Regions from separate parts of the Homo sapiens genome. Here regions 2 and 3 are each linked to region 1. Evidence: promoter capture Hi-C in human tissues and cell types (Jung and others, 2019). All regions are on one chromosome and are shown on one strand. The core of a region is centred on a gene start or on the middle of the fragment in contact, and the rest is flanking DNA. Distances in the headings are between cores, read along the strand shown.

Region 1 (4,260 bases), core at 1,053-3,552:
CTCAAGCAATCTTCCCACCTCAGCCCTCCAAGTAGCTGGGACTACAGGCAGGCATCACTATTCCTGGATAATTTTTTAAATTTTTTGTAGCATCAGGGTCTTGATATGTTGCCCAGGCTGGTCTCGAACTCCTGGGCTCAAGTGATCCTCCTACTTCAGCCTCCCAGTGTTGGAATTACAGGCATGAGCCACTGACCTGCCCAGGGCTGCTTCTGAGTGTCATTCAGCATTCCCAGGCAGTAAAGGAAGAAGTGAGCCAGGGCTGTTGATGCTCTGGGACTTGTGCAGCCTCTTTTCTGTCACATTCTATTGGTCAAGACCAGCCACAAGGCTAGTCTAGGTTCAGGCTGGTGGAGAAACAAACTCTACCTCTTGCTGGGAGTGACTGCGAAATCGCATTACAAGCAGTGGAACTTGCAGAATTTAAGGCCATGAAATATTCAACGTGACTGTAGACCGGGCCCTGGGGATATGGCCTGCCCCTCTGCAACCGTGCTTTAGTGAGACAACAAATAGTCAACACGTACAAAAGCTCAGAAAGTGCTGTGGAAAACATCAGCTAGGGAGAGAGGGGGCTACTTGAGACAGGTCAGGGAAGGCTTCCCAGAGACGTCTGAGCTAAGACCCGAGCACTGGAGCATGCCTGCCTGGGATGTCTGTGCCTCTGAGGTTTCCAAGGAAGACAACTGTCTTTGCATAAGCCCATGGCTGCCCTTGGGGGAAGGGGCCCAGGGGACACCACTAATGGTTGCTGTGATAGCATCATTGTGGAATGGAGTGGAAGCTGCCTTGGGGCCAGAGTATCTGTCCCCCAGCACTCATTTGCAGGCTGTGTGACACTGGCCATCTGGGTTTCTTCCCCTGACTCCCAAAGCCCAGGTCCAGTTCACTGCACTGTGAGGGTTCACAGGTTTATAACAGGATAAACTACAGAGAGAGGTCAGTGCTTCCTGGTATACTATGCACAGCTGCGACACTCAATAAACAGAAGTTCACTGAACTGCAAGGTCACTGCTGCTGTGACAGGAGGGTCATATGGATGTGTGTATCTTGCCAGTGGCTGTGGTGAAACCCTGCTTGTGGAGAATAGACATAAACACACCTTCTCTCTCTCCCTCTCTGTCTTCCTTTCACCTCCCCTCTCCCTCCACCCCTTCCATTTCCTATTCTCCCAGCATGTTCTTTCCACTCTTCCTCACCTCCTTCCCCTTCACCTCCTTCCTACACCATTCCTTTTTCCATCTCTTTCCTGTTTTCCTAACTTGTTACTCTCATCTTTTTCTTTCTTTTCTGTTCTTCCTGACAGCTCCCCTTCCTACCTCCTCTCCCTTCACCCTTTCTCCTACTCTTTCCCCTCCTCTCATTTCTACCTCTCTTTCCTTTTCACTTCCCCTCTCCCTCCTGTCTTTCTCCTTTTTCTTTTACCTCTGTGCCTCCCTCTCACCTCTTCCCACACCACCTCATCTCCTCCATAACTAACTCACCTCCTTTTTGTTTGTTTGTTTTTTGAGACAGGGTCTCCTTCTGTGGCCCAGGCTGGAGTGCAGTGGTGCCATCACAGCTCACTGCGGCCTCAACCTCCGAGGCTCAAGCGATCCTCCCACCTCAGCCTCCCCAGTAGCTGGGACCACAAGCAGCGCCACCAGGCCCGGCTGTTTTACTTTTTATTTTGTAGAGAAAGGGTCTCCCTATGTTGCCCAGGCTGGTCTCGAACTCCTGGGCTCAAGCGATGCTCCCGCCTTGGCCTCCGGAAGCGCTGGGATTAGAGGCGTGAGCCGCCGCGCCGGGCCTCCCCCCTTCCCCTCCGCCGCCGCCTTCTCATCGCCCTTCCTCCTTCCTCCTGACGCCCCTTACTCCCGATCACTTCTCATTCATTCACCAGCTTCCAGTCCTCGCTCCCTCACCTCTTTTCTTTCCTACTCGCCTTCTCCTCCTGCCCCTTTATCATCTCTCCTTGTCACCGTTCTTTTTTGCCAATCCTCTCGTTCCCCTTCCTTTCCTCATCTCCTCTCTTACCCACGTCATCTCCATTCTCGTGCTCCCCTTCACCTCCCGTTACCTTGCGCTTCTCTCCTCTCATCTCCATCACCACCTCTCCCCGCTTTCGCCTTTCTTTAGCCCCCGCGTCCCCTATACCCTTCGCCCATGCCCACTCCCCTCCCCACCTTCTCTTCTTCCACCCTCCACCCTCGCCTTCTGTCTCTCGCCCACCTGACTCCGCTCCGCCCCCAGCCTTAGGCTCCGCCCCGCTGGGGGTCACGGGGCCGACGGACGCTAGGCGGCCGTAGCGGCCTCGCCAGTCACGTGGTCACGTGACGCGCTCCAACATGGCGGCGCCGTGGGGCCGAGGTGTCGCTTCCTGACGGGGCGGCGCGGACGGACGCGGCCGGTGCCGGCCGGGACGCCGGGCCCGCAGCCTAGCTCGCCATCTCGCTCACGCCGCCCGCCCGCGGGGCCGTCAGCCCCCGCCGGGCCGGGGCCATGCAGGAGAGCCAGACCAAGAGCATGTTCGTGTCCCGGGCCCTGGAGAAGATCCTAGCCGACAAGGAGGTGAAGCGGCCCCAGCACTCCCAGCTGCGCAGGGCCTGCCAGGTGGCGCTCGGTGGGTGAGCCGCTCCCGCCCTGCCCCGCGCTGGCCTCAGCACGTCGGCCGTTGCCCTATCCTACTCGGCCTTGGCCCGGCCTCCTGGCCTCCGCTTCCCCCCGATCCCGAATTCCACCCTTCCGGCCTCCTCCTCATTATACCCCCGGAGGAAGTGTTGCCCGGGCAGCTCGGGACTGGCCCAAGGTCACCTAGCAAGTTGGTGACAACCAGAGCTTGTTCCTCAGGGTTCCAGCTCAGGGCTTTTGCCACGATTCCTTGTCGCCCTGTTTCCTGGTTCCTCCCCTCACCACCTCCAAGTCCTAGAAACAGTAGCCCTTGCCCCAAGTTTTTTCGTTACCTGAGCTCTGCTGATTGGGGTTCCCCTAGGTGAACAGAGCATGTAGGAAGAGCCGTCCAACTGGTTTAGGGAAACCCCTGATTCTTGTTTTGGAAGTGCCCGTTGGAGAATGTTTTCCTTTGGTTTGGGGATCTCCCATAGCTCTTTCCCTCAAGGAAGGATTGTAGAAGGTGTTCTGGATCTCCCAGGCATTGTAGTGAGCAAGACATCTGCTTATTCCTAGCAGTCCACTAAAATACAAGGTCTTCAGCGCGAAGATACTTGTCTGACTTATTCATTGCTGTATCCCTTGCGCTTGCAACAGTGCCTGGCGCACAGTAGGTGCTCGATAAATATTTGCTGATTGAATGGACCCTCAGATTATGGAAAGAGGGAGAATTCTAACTAATAGTTAAAGGCTTGATAATTGATAGCAAAATCACTATCCTATCTTTCAGTTTTAATCATTTAACAAATATTTATCAAGTGCCCACTGCATACCAGGTACTGAGAATTCAGTGGGGAACAAGACGGACATGGTCCTTACCCCTATGGAGCTTATACTCGAATAGAGGAGACAAAATAATTAATTAAGAAAATAGGTGAGGTATTTTGGAATACTGATAAATACTATTTTGAAAATAAAACAGCAAGATGTGATAAAGAGGGCTTGAGGACTGCTTTCCATGGTCAGGAAAGTAATCTTTTCCAAGAGGAAAAGTAATCAGGTGGTCAGGAAAGTAATCTTTTCCAAGAGGGTGACACTTGAGCTGAATACTGAAAGGCAAGAACTATCCACCATATGGAGTTTCAGAAGAGAGTTCTTGGTGGGAGAATCCATGCATTTGACCAGAGCTGTTTTCAAGCTAATTCACTGCCCCAACGTCTTTGGTTTGGAATCTGTAAAGGCCTGTTTTTCCTAACAAAATGAGCAAATGGAAAGTTTGATTTTTAGTCACATAGTTTGAGATTGTTATCACCTTTCTCCTTTCATTTGCTACAAAGTATAGAGTAGTGTTCTTTTGGCATTTAGAAATAGGCTGGTGAACTTTGCACTTCCCTGGAAAGAAGGTCCCTGGCTTTCATCAGATTTTCAGAGGGCCCTGAGACTCCCTCAGGGGCCAACTATTGATGCAGAGGTGGTAGTCTAGATAATCTGGAAACAGTTGCTAGTCCGTGAAATTCAGGATCAGTGGAAGGAATTTACTGAGATGTAGATTTTTAAAGCTTTTCTCTTCCAATAACCAAGGCTGTTGGGTATTTTATCAGCAATGTGGGATAAGCACTGCAAAGCAGTTTGTTAGGCAAGAGCCTGGTATTTATAACTCCACGTTGAAAT
Region 2 (4,344 bases), core at 1,845-4,344, 1.4 Mb before region 1:
AGATGTTCATCATTCATTTGTCGAGTGAATAAACACACTCTGTATTTCCTTGAAAGGGTGACGTCCTAAAGCCCTTCTCTTACCCCATCTGTGGCGTTAAGATGTTTTTCTGGGTCACAGCATATCGTTTCTCTTTAAACCCTGTGGTGGGAGTACTTTAGGAAAGTTCCTAGTTTTTGTTGATTTTATTTTATTTTTATATTATTATTATTATTATTATTATTTTAGACGGAGTCTCGCTCTGCCACCCAGGCTAGAGTGCAGTGGTGCGATCTCGGCTTACTGCAAGCTCCACCTCCCGGGTTCACACCATTCTCCTGCCTCAGCCTCCTGAGTAGCTGGGACTACAGGCGCCCATCACCATGCCCGACTAATTTTTTGTGTGTGTGTTTTTAGTAGAGACAGGGTTTCACCACATTAGCCAGGATAGTCTCGATCTCCTGACCTCGTGATCCACCCGCCTCGGCCTCCCAAAGTGCTGGGATTACAGGCATGAGCCACCGCGCCCGGCCCGTTTTGTTATTTTTTGAGATGGAGTGTCGCTCTGTCACCCAGACTGAAGTGCAGTGGCATGATCTCAGCTCACTGCAACCTCCACCTCCTGGGTTCAAGCGATTGTCGTGCCTTAGCCTCCCGAGTAGCTAGGATTACAGGCGCCTGCCACCACCCCCTGCTAATTATTTTATTTTATTTTATTTTTATTTTTAATAAAGATGGGGTTTACCAAGTTGGCCAGGCTGGTCTTGAACTCCTGACCTCAGGTTATCCACCTGCCTCGACCTCCCAAAGTGCTGGGATTATAGGTGTGAGCCACCATGCTCAGCCTTTGTTGGTTTTATTTTAGCTTCCCGTCTCTTTAGGCTGGAACTGTTTCTAGAAATCCATTTAAGATGGAAGTTGACTCTGAAATTGGTTAAATAAAGTTAGGGTGATTTGTTAATATAGAGGAATTGTGAGTTACCACCTGTCATATATATAAGAGAATTTCTTATTTGTTTTCTTACTCTCTAAGCCTAATAAAAAAAGGTTCCTTTAAAAAAAAAAAATTCATTCTAGGCCAGGTGCGGTGGCCCACACCTGTAATCCCAGCACTTTGGGAGGTTGAGGCAGGCAGATCACCTGAGGTCAGGAGTTCCAGACCAGCCAGCCCAACATGGCGAAACCCCGTCTCTACTAAAAATACAAAAAATTAGCTGGGCATGGTGGCAGGCGCCTGTAATCTCAGCTACTCGGGAGGCTGAGGCAGGAGAATCACTTGAACCTGGGAGGCAGAGGTTGGAGTGAGCTGAGATCATGCCACTGCACTCCAGCCTGGGTGGCAAGAGTGAAACTCCATCTCAAAAAATAAAATAAAATAAAAATAAAAATTAAAAAAAAATCTTTTTTACTGCATTTTCAGTGGCAGTTTGAGAAGAAGGGGTGGTACATGTCGATAGACATTAACATGCAATTGAGAAATGCTTTTAAAAAAGTGTGCATGTATATTATGCCTTCTCAATGTTTTTATTCTGTTTCAGCAAATCAGTAGAGTTGCAGTAATCTAGAAAGGATTAATTATGTCATGATGGTTTACTGTGTAGTCTCCCCAAGAAGGGCCACTCTGTTCTGCGTACTGCTGTTAGGCACAAGATGTGAAATAATATCTGTGAGGTCTTCATTTGGTGAATATGATAAAATCAATAGCATTTTAAAGGGTCTCCTAAAAATACCATTTAATGAATTTTAAAAATTAATAGTGAATTATTATTATTGAGAACATTTGTTAAATTAGTGTTTTCTTGGTTTGGATTGGATGTAATGCATAAACTTCAAAGATGTAAAAACTGTATTTAAAACATTTTTTAAATTTTTTGTAGAGATGGGGGTCTCACCACGTTGCCTAGGGTGGTCTCGAGCTCTTGGGCTCAAGTGATCCTCCCACCTCAGCCTCCAAAAGTGTTAGATTACAGTCCTGAGCCATCATGGACTTAACTATCCTTAATTTTGTATCACCTATGGAGAACATGTATTAACTTTGTAATAAAAAAGTTTTTAGGCCTGGTGCAGCAGCTCTTGCCTGTAATGCCAGCACATTGGGAGGCTGAGGTGAGAGGATCACTTAAGCCCAGGAGTTTGAGGCCAGCCTGGGCAACATGGCAAGACCCCAGATTGACAAAAAATTAAAAAAAAAAATTAGCTGGGCATGATGTGGTTAAAAAAAAATTTATCTGGGCACAGGATGACAGGTACCTGCGGTCCCAGCTACCCGGAAGGCTGAGACATGGCAATCACTTGAGACCAGGAGGTTGAGGCTACAGCAAACTATGATCTGTCTGCTGCACTCCATCCTGGGCAACAGAGCGAAGACTCTGTCTCAAAAAAAAAAAAAAAAAAAAAGTCTTCTGTATTTTGTATAAATTGGTGGTGGTTGGATCTAGAGGCTTGAGCACAGATGATTTAATGAGATCAGTTTCCAGGTTTGCAGATTCACAAACCTTTGTTCTCTTAAATTCTTCTTCTTTCTTCTCTTTTTTGGGGACAGAGTCTTCCTCTGTCACCAGGCTGGAGTGTAGTGGCACAATCAAGGCTTATTGCAGCCTCTACCTCCCAGGCTCAAGAAATCCTCCCACCTTAGCTTCTTAAATAGCTGGGACTACAGGCGCACGCCACCACCATGCCTGGCTAATTTTTGTAATTTTTTGTAGAGACATGATTTCACCATGTTGCTTAGGCTGGTCTCAAACTCCTGAGCTCAAGCAGTCTGCCTACCTGGGCCTCCCAGAGTGCTGGGATTACAGGCGTGAGCCACTGTGCTGGCTGTTCTTTTAACTTTTTAAGTTGGCCTGAGAAAGCTTGCAGAGCCTTATTCTCCAGATGTCTCTTTTTACAATTATTCTTCTAACTGCCAAAAGAAGTAAGAAGTCTCCCGTTTTACTGTGTTGTATTTCAATTTTTTTTTTTTTTTAAAAGGGTTTGAAGTCCAGGCGCGGTGGCTCACACCTGTAATCCCGGCACTTTGGGAGGCCGAGGTGGGCAAATGACCTGAGGTTGGGAGTTTGAGACCAACCTGACCAACATGGAGAAACCCCATCTCTACTAAAAATACAAAATTAGTCGGGCATGGAGGCACATGCCTGTAATCTCAGCTACTCGGGAGGCTGAGGCAGGAGAATTGCTTGAATCCGGGAGGCAGAGGTTGCTGTGAGCTGAGATCGTGCCATTGCACTCCAGCCTGGGCAACAAGAGCAAAACTCCGTCTCAGAAAAAAAAAAAAAAAAAAGGTGGGGGGGTTTGAAACACATGGGCAATTAGAAATACTGGTGTCAGAGTTTAACAAGTGAATGACTCTCAATGACTGATTAACAAACGACCTATTAGTTGGTTTCTAAGTGTGTTTTCATCAGAATTGAGGTGGAAGTTAATCAAATTGCTCTCTGAGAGATCATGAAAACATAATTTTTGATGGTAGTTCACTGAGACTCTTATCATGTAATTAAGATTATACTGAAAGAATTGAATGACATCGCTTTCACATAACTCCTTCCATGTATTTAATCTACTTATGTCAGCACATTTTAATCTTACAAAAAATGAGTGCATGTCAGTGGTGGGAGAAGGACAAAACATCTTGCTCATTGTAGCGAACAGATTCACTGACAGTGAAAAGTGTATTTTTATGTATATATTACCCAAATTTGTAATATGTTTATGTTTTGAACAATTACATCCTAATAATGATCATAGTAACTCAGAATAAGATGTTTTTCAATACTTAGACCTTATGATCAGATGGAATTTAATTATTTCAGTTTATATATCTTTTTTCAGATATAGGATAATAAAATACATTCAAGCATAAAATGGCATTTCCTCATGATTAAATTCTGGGGAAGAAGAACGGAAATTTTATATTTCAGGAGAAAGGAAGAGTTGTAGAATTTCTGACTTGGAGATGATCTAGGTTCTTTTCAATATGTAAGAGTGATATAACACCTTATTAAAATGCTAATGCTCATAATATCTTGGAAGTGACTACTTCGTAACTAAATTGATGAAAAATTTAAATGTCAACTTGCAAATGTTCTGGGGCCCATAGTTTTTCAAGAATCTTCTGGTAGGTACTTGAGCAAAAACATTCAAGTCCTTTGGTACCTGTTTGTTGTCAGGCTCCGTGCTGGCTGTGTTGGTGATGTAATGACACGTTCCCTGAATTGACACATTCCCATCTTTCAAGCAGTAGACTTTCTACAACAACCAACTTAATTTATGTCTGAAGCAAAGACGTATAACTGTACACACTAAAGATCTTTACATTTCGTGTTTTTATAAACAGAATTACAAATGCATATTTTGTATTTGAAATTT
Region 3 (4,316 bases), core at 1,450-3,949, 1.6 Mb after region 1:
CCTCCCAAAGTGCTAGGATTACAGGTGTGAGCCACCAGGCCTGGCCTATTTTTATTTATTTATTTTTTTTGAGACAGTGTCTCACTCTATCGTCCAGGCTGGAGTGCAGTGACATGATCATGGCTCACTGCAGCCTCAATCTCCCAGGCTCAAGTGATTCTCCCATCTCAGCCTCCTGAGTACCTGGGACTACAGGTGCACGCCACCACAGCCGGCTAATTTTTTTTTTTTTTTTTGAGACAGGATCTTGCTCTGTTGCCCAGGCTGGAGTGCAGTGGTGCAATCTCAGCTCACTGCAGCCTCTGCCTCCCAGGTTGAAGTGATTCTTGTGCCTCAGCCTGCCGAGTAGCTGGGATTACAGGCATGCACCACCACACCCTGCTAATTTTTGTATTTTTAGTAGAGTTGAGGTTTCACCATGCTTGTCAGGCTGGTCTCGAATTCCTGACCTCAAGTGATGCACCCACCACGGCCTCCCAAAGTGGTGGGATTACAGGCGTGAGCCACCACAGCCAGTCAGTTTTCTCGTTTATAAAATGGGAATAATAGCACCTGTATTGAAGGGTTGTTGTGGAGATTGAATGGGAATGTGTACTTAGAATTCCAGGCATAGTGCCTGCCACAAGCACTCAAGGAATGAGCTGGAGTTCAGCTGATAATACCAGGCAGTGTCTCTGGGCAACACGGAATGAAGACAATTCTCTCTTCCAGGTTTTCAAACCTCCTGGAATTCACAACGTCCACATGACATGCCAGGCCCAGAGGGGGATGGTTTAAACTGGAGCCTGCAGGAAGGCAACCTGACCAACCTGCTCATGGGTGCTTTAAGGATCATAGGTACGAGAATCAGCTGGAGTTGTTGGTGAAAATGCAGATTCCGGGTCTCATCCCTAGACCAAAGATATCTGAATCATTTGGCGATGGGTCCAGGAACCTGCATTATTCAACACACTTCCCAGGTGACCGTAAATGTCAAAAGACAAAATTACAACAAACTTAAACATCTTAATTGGCTTCATTCATGATTCTAGAATCGGGCAAGACTTCATTCCTCAAAATAGCACAAGTGTCCCAATGAGCTGAGCAGAGGAGGTTGGTTTTATAGACAGAAAAGGGCTGAAAAAAGCAGAAACAAAGAACAAAAAGCAGATTGGTCATTTCAAAGTTACTTTCCTTGTAAGGCAGGAACAGGGAAACAGAACAAGAGAGAAATAACTGATTGGTCGCATCGGGTTACTTCAGGTTACTTTTTGTTGTAAGGATTAAAGCAAAGGGAACTTCATTATGTTGATTAAAACGGTCTGCTTGGGAAATCAGGGTGTGTATCTCTCTTCTGATTTTGTGAAAGGTTATCAGTCTGATGATGTAGAACTTTAGCATGAGTGACTCCATTTTGATTTTTAGTCTAGTCTGTTGAGACCCTAATGCCAGAACTTTTTTTGTTTGTTTGTTTCGCTCTTGTTGCCCAGGCTGGAGTGCAGTGGAGCTATCTTGGCTCACTGCAACCTCTGCCTCCAGGGTTCAAGCGATTCTCCTGCCTCAGCCTCCCAAGTAGCTGGGATTACAGGCATGCGCCACCACGCCCGGCTAATTTTTTTTTTTTTTTTTTTTTTTAGCAGAAACCGAGTTTCACCATGTTGGTCAGGCTGGTCTCGGACTCTTGACCTCAGGTGATCCACCTGCGTCGGTCTCCCAAAGTGCTGGGATTACAGGTGTGAGCCACCACACCCAGCCCTTTTTTTTCAAGACAGGGTCTCTCTCTGCCACCCAAGGTGGAGTGCAGTGGCGCCAAAACAGCTCACTGCAGCTTCCACCTCCTGGGCTCAGGTGATCTTCCTGCCTCAGCCTCCCCAGCAGCTGGGCCCCACCACACCGGCTAATTTTTTAACTTTTAGTAGTGACGAGGTCTGATTCTGTTACCCAGGCTGGTCTGGAACTCCTGGCCTCAAGACATCCGCCTGCCTCTGCCTCCCAAAGTGCTGGGATTACAGATGTAAGCCACCGCGCCTGGGCTCCTATGATTTTTATTTAACATAATGCACCATGGAATTTGTGCTCTGCTTAGTTCAGTCTGAGCAGGAGTTCCTTGATACTTCGGGAAACACTGAAAATCATTCCATCCCCATCCATTCATTCCTGCAGCACCCAAGTGGAAATTCTGCGTTTCAGACAGGGACACTACCCTTAGAGAGCAGTGGGCTTCCCCAGCAGCGTAGTGAAACATGATACTCCTGAGTTTCATGAAAAAAGGGCAGACATCTGGCCAGAGCTGGGAGGCAGGAAATAGAGCACGGTGCCCTCCTCCCATACTCCAGCTTGGATTACTGAGGCTGGGGCCCAGGCCCTGCAGGAAAGGAGGTGCATGACTACTTTAAGGCCACTCACTCTGTGACTCAACGGGCCGGGTCGGGGCTGGAACTCAATGCCCTCCCGGGCCTGGAGAGCCCACGCGCCGTGGGCGGGGCTCCCGGGGTCGCCTAGGCAACAGGCGCGCGCCGCGCCCGAGCCCAGAGCCCCAAAGCGGAGGAGGGAACGCGCGCTATTAGATATCTCGCGGTGCTGGGGCCACTTCCCCTAGCACCGCCCCCGGCTCCTCCCCGCGGAAGTGCTTGTCGAAATTCTCGATCGCTGATTGGTCCTTCTGCTTCAGGGGCGGAGCCCCTGGCAGGCGTGATGCGTAGTTCCGGCTGCCGGTTGACATGAAGAAGCAGCAGCGGCTAGGGCGGCGGTAGCTGCAGGGGTCGGGGATTGCAGCGGGCCTCGGGGCTAAGAGCGCGACGCGGCCTAGAGCGGCAGACGGCGCAGTGGGCCGAGAAGGAGGCGCAGCAGCCGCCCTGGCCCGTCATGGAGATGGAAAAGGAGTTCGAGCAGATCGACAAGTCCGGGAGCTGGGCGGCCATTTACCAGGTGCGGGAGCGCCCCGGAGCGTGGCGGGCCCTTCGCTTAGGCCGCTTGAACATCCCCTCAGACCTCCAGGCCCCAGACTCCCTCTGGGTCTTGCCCTCTGCCTCGCTCCTACTGCTTGAGGATTCGATGGGACAGCGACGCACTGCGTCCCCCCACCCTTTGTCCCCGGGGCGGGCGTGTTTCTCGCCGCAGCGTCGGAGCCCCCTTCGATCCCCCACCTCCCTTCTGTTCTCCAGCTCGGGTGATCTCTCAAGCCGGGGGACCGCCGGTCTGTGCTCTCAACGCGAATCCCTCGCACCCCGACCCCGCCCCCTGCCTGTCCACTCTTTGTCCCCTGGGGTGATTTAGCACCCCCACTATTTCCTTTTCTGGAGTGGACCACCTCAGACTCTCTTCCTTTGTCTCCCTGGGGGAAAAGGTTACTCCCCCCGTCCCTCCTTCACATTTCCTTTCCCCTAGTCTCAGTGTGCGTCGAGTCCCAGAGATGACAGTCCCCTTTCCCCTTTCTGTTCATTCATTTATTGGATAGGAGTTGGCAAGCTTATTCTGTGCTAGGCACCGCTTAGGCATTGGAGGTGGTGTTTGCTAATCAGGACAGGCAAGATCCTAGCCTTAGTGGGGCCTAGAGTCGAATAGGGCAATCAAACACAAAAGCAAATAATTTCAGATAGTGACAGGTGCTGTGAAGAGAACGACTTCCTAACGGGGTACAGGGTGACTGCATAGAAGGCCGGCTGTCTTAGAGAAGGGGATCAGGGAAGGCCTGTCAAAGGAGGAGACATTTGCTTTGTGAGCTGAACCAAGAGGAGCAGAAAGCCGTGAGAATATGGGGCTAAAGAACCTTCTAGCCAGGAGGCCTGCGGTACCCACTCCATTGGGGCCATGATATTATTCTTTCAGGCAGGGACTCAGGAAGGTTAACGTTTTAACCCTCTCTAAAATAGCATCTTTCCTCAATGAGCAGCTTAGTCTTTGGTCGTGGCAGAGATGACCTTGTCTTAGGAGTCATCTCCTTGTGTGTTAAAAAGTTAGGAAAGGAGGGTTTCTCATATATCTATAAAACAAGTAGTTAAAAACACAAAGAGCTCTTCCTTTCACAAGCAGCTGAATAAGATACATACTCCCAATTAAATGTCATTGCGGGGGTTGTTAAGATTAACTAAAACCACACTTGCACAGTATCTTAAATAAGCGATATACAGAATAGAGAGATTTTGTTACTTGTGTAAAGGGAGACAGCAGATGATTCTGTTTTCAGCTTATAGGCTCAAAAGGCAAATTGTGAGATCCATCAGCTGTAGTATTAAAATCTATTTTGAGCTCCGCTTAGAAAGGAAAAAAGGTTTAAGCAGTTCTTTGGTATGCTTGACTAACAAAAGCCTTTTTTTTTGGCAGCCTTGATTTTCATG

Evidence for each region. The method cuts DNA at HindIII sites, captures the fragments that hold promoters and counts their contacts. A contact is called where the count stands out against the background at its distance.
Region 2: a contact is called between a fragment that was not itself captured here and the fragment with the promoter of ARFGEF2 in region 1, in 1 of the 25 tissues and cell types used here (dorsolateral prefrontal cortex).
Region 3: the fragment with the promoter of PTPN1 here is called in contact with the fragment with the promoter of ARFGEF2 in region 1 in 1 of the 25 tissues and cell types used here (spleen).

The regions. Positions count from the first base shown.
Region 1 is chr20:48,919,409-48,923,668 of GRCh38, forward strand. ARFGEF2 (ARF guanine nucleotide exchange factor 2) reads left to right here and starts at 2,303. Exons shown (of 39, transcript NM_006420.3): 1 at 2,303-2,602. The coding sequence starts at 2,482. RefSeq lists silencers at 2,064-2,143, 2,374-2,473, 2,514-2,563 and an enhancer at 2,934-3,013. The HindIII fragment of the contact is 23,689 bases long and covers 1-4,260 here.
Region 2 is chr20:47,547,206-47,551,549 of GRCh38, forward strand. The region is part of intron 1 of NCOA3 (nuclear receptor coactivator 3); the gene reads left to right. Among named protein-coding and RNA genes, the nearest start is that of NCOA3, 47 kb to the left of the region's middle. The HindIII fragment of the contact is 5,001 bases long and covers 595-4,344 here.
Region 3 is chr20:50,507,684-50,511,999 of GRCh38, forward strand. It overlaps PTPN1 (protein tyrosine phosphatase non-receptor type 1), which reads left to right and starts at 2,700. Exons shown (of 10, transcript NM_002827.4): 1 at 2,700-2,907. The coding sequence starts at 2,845. RefSeq lists enhancers at 1,874-2,461, 2,674-2,773 and a silencer at 2,334-2,563. The HindIII fragment of the contact is 10,222 bases long and covers 1-3,889 here.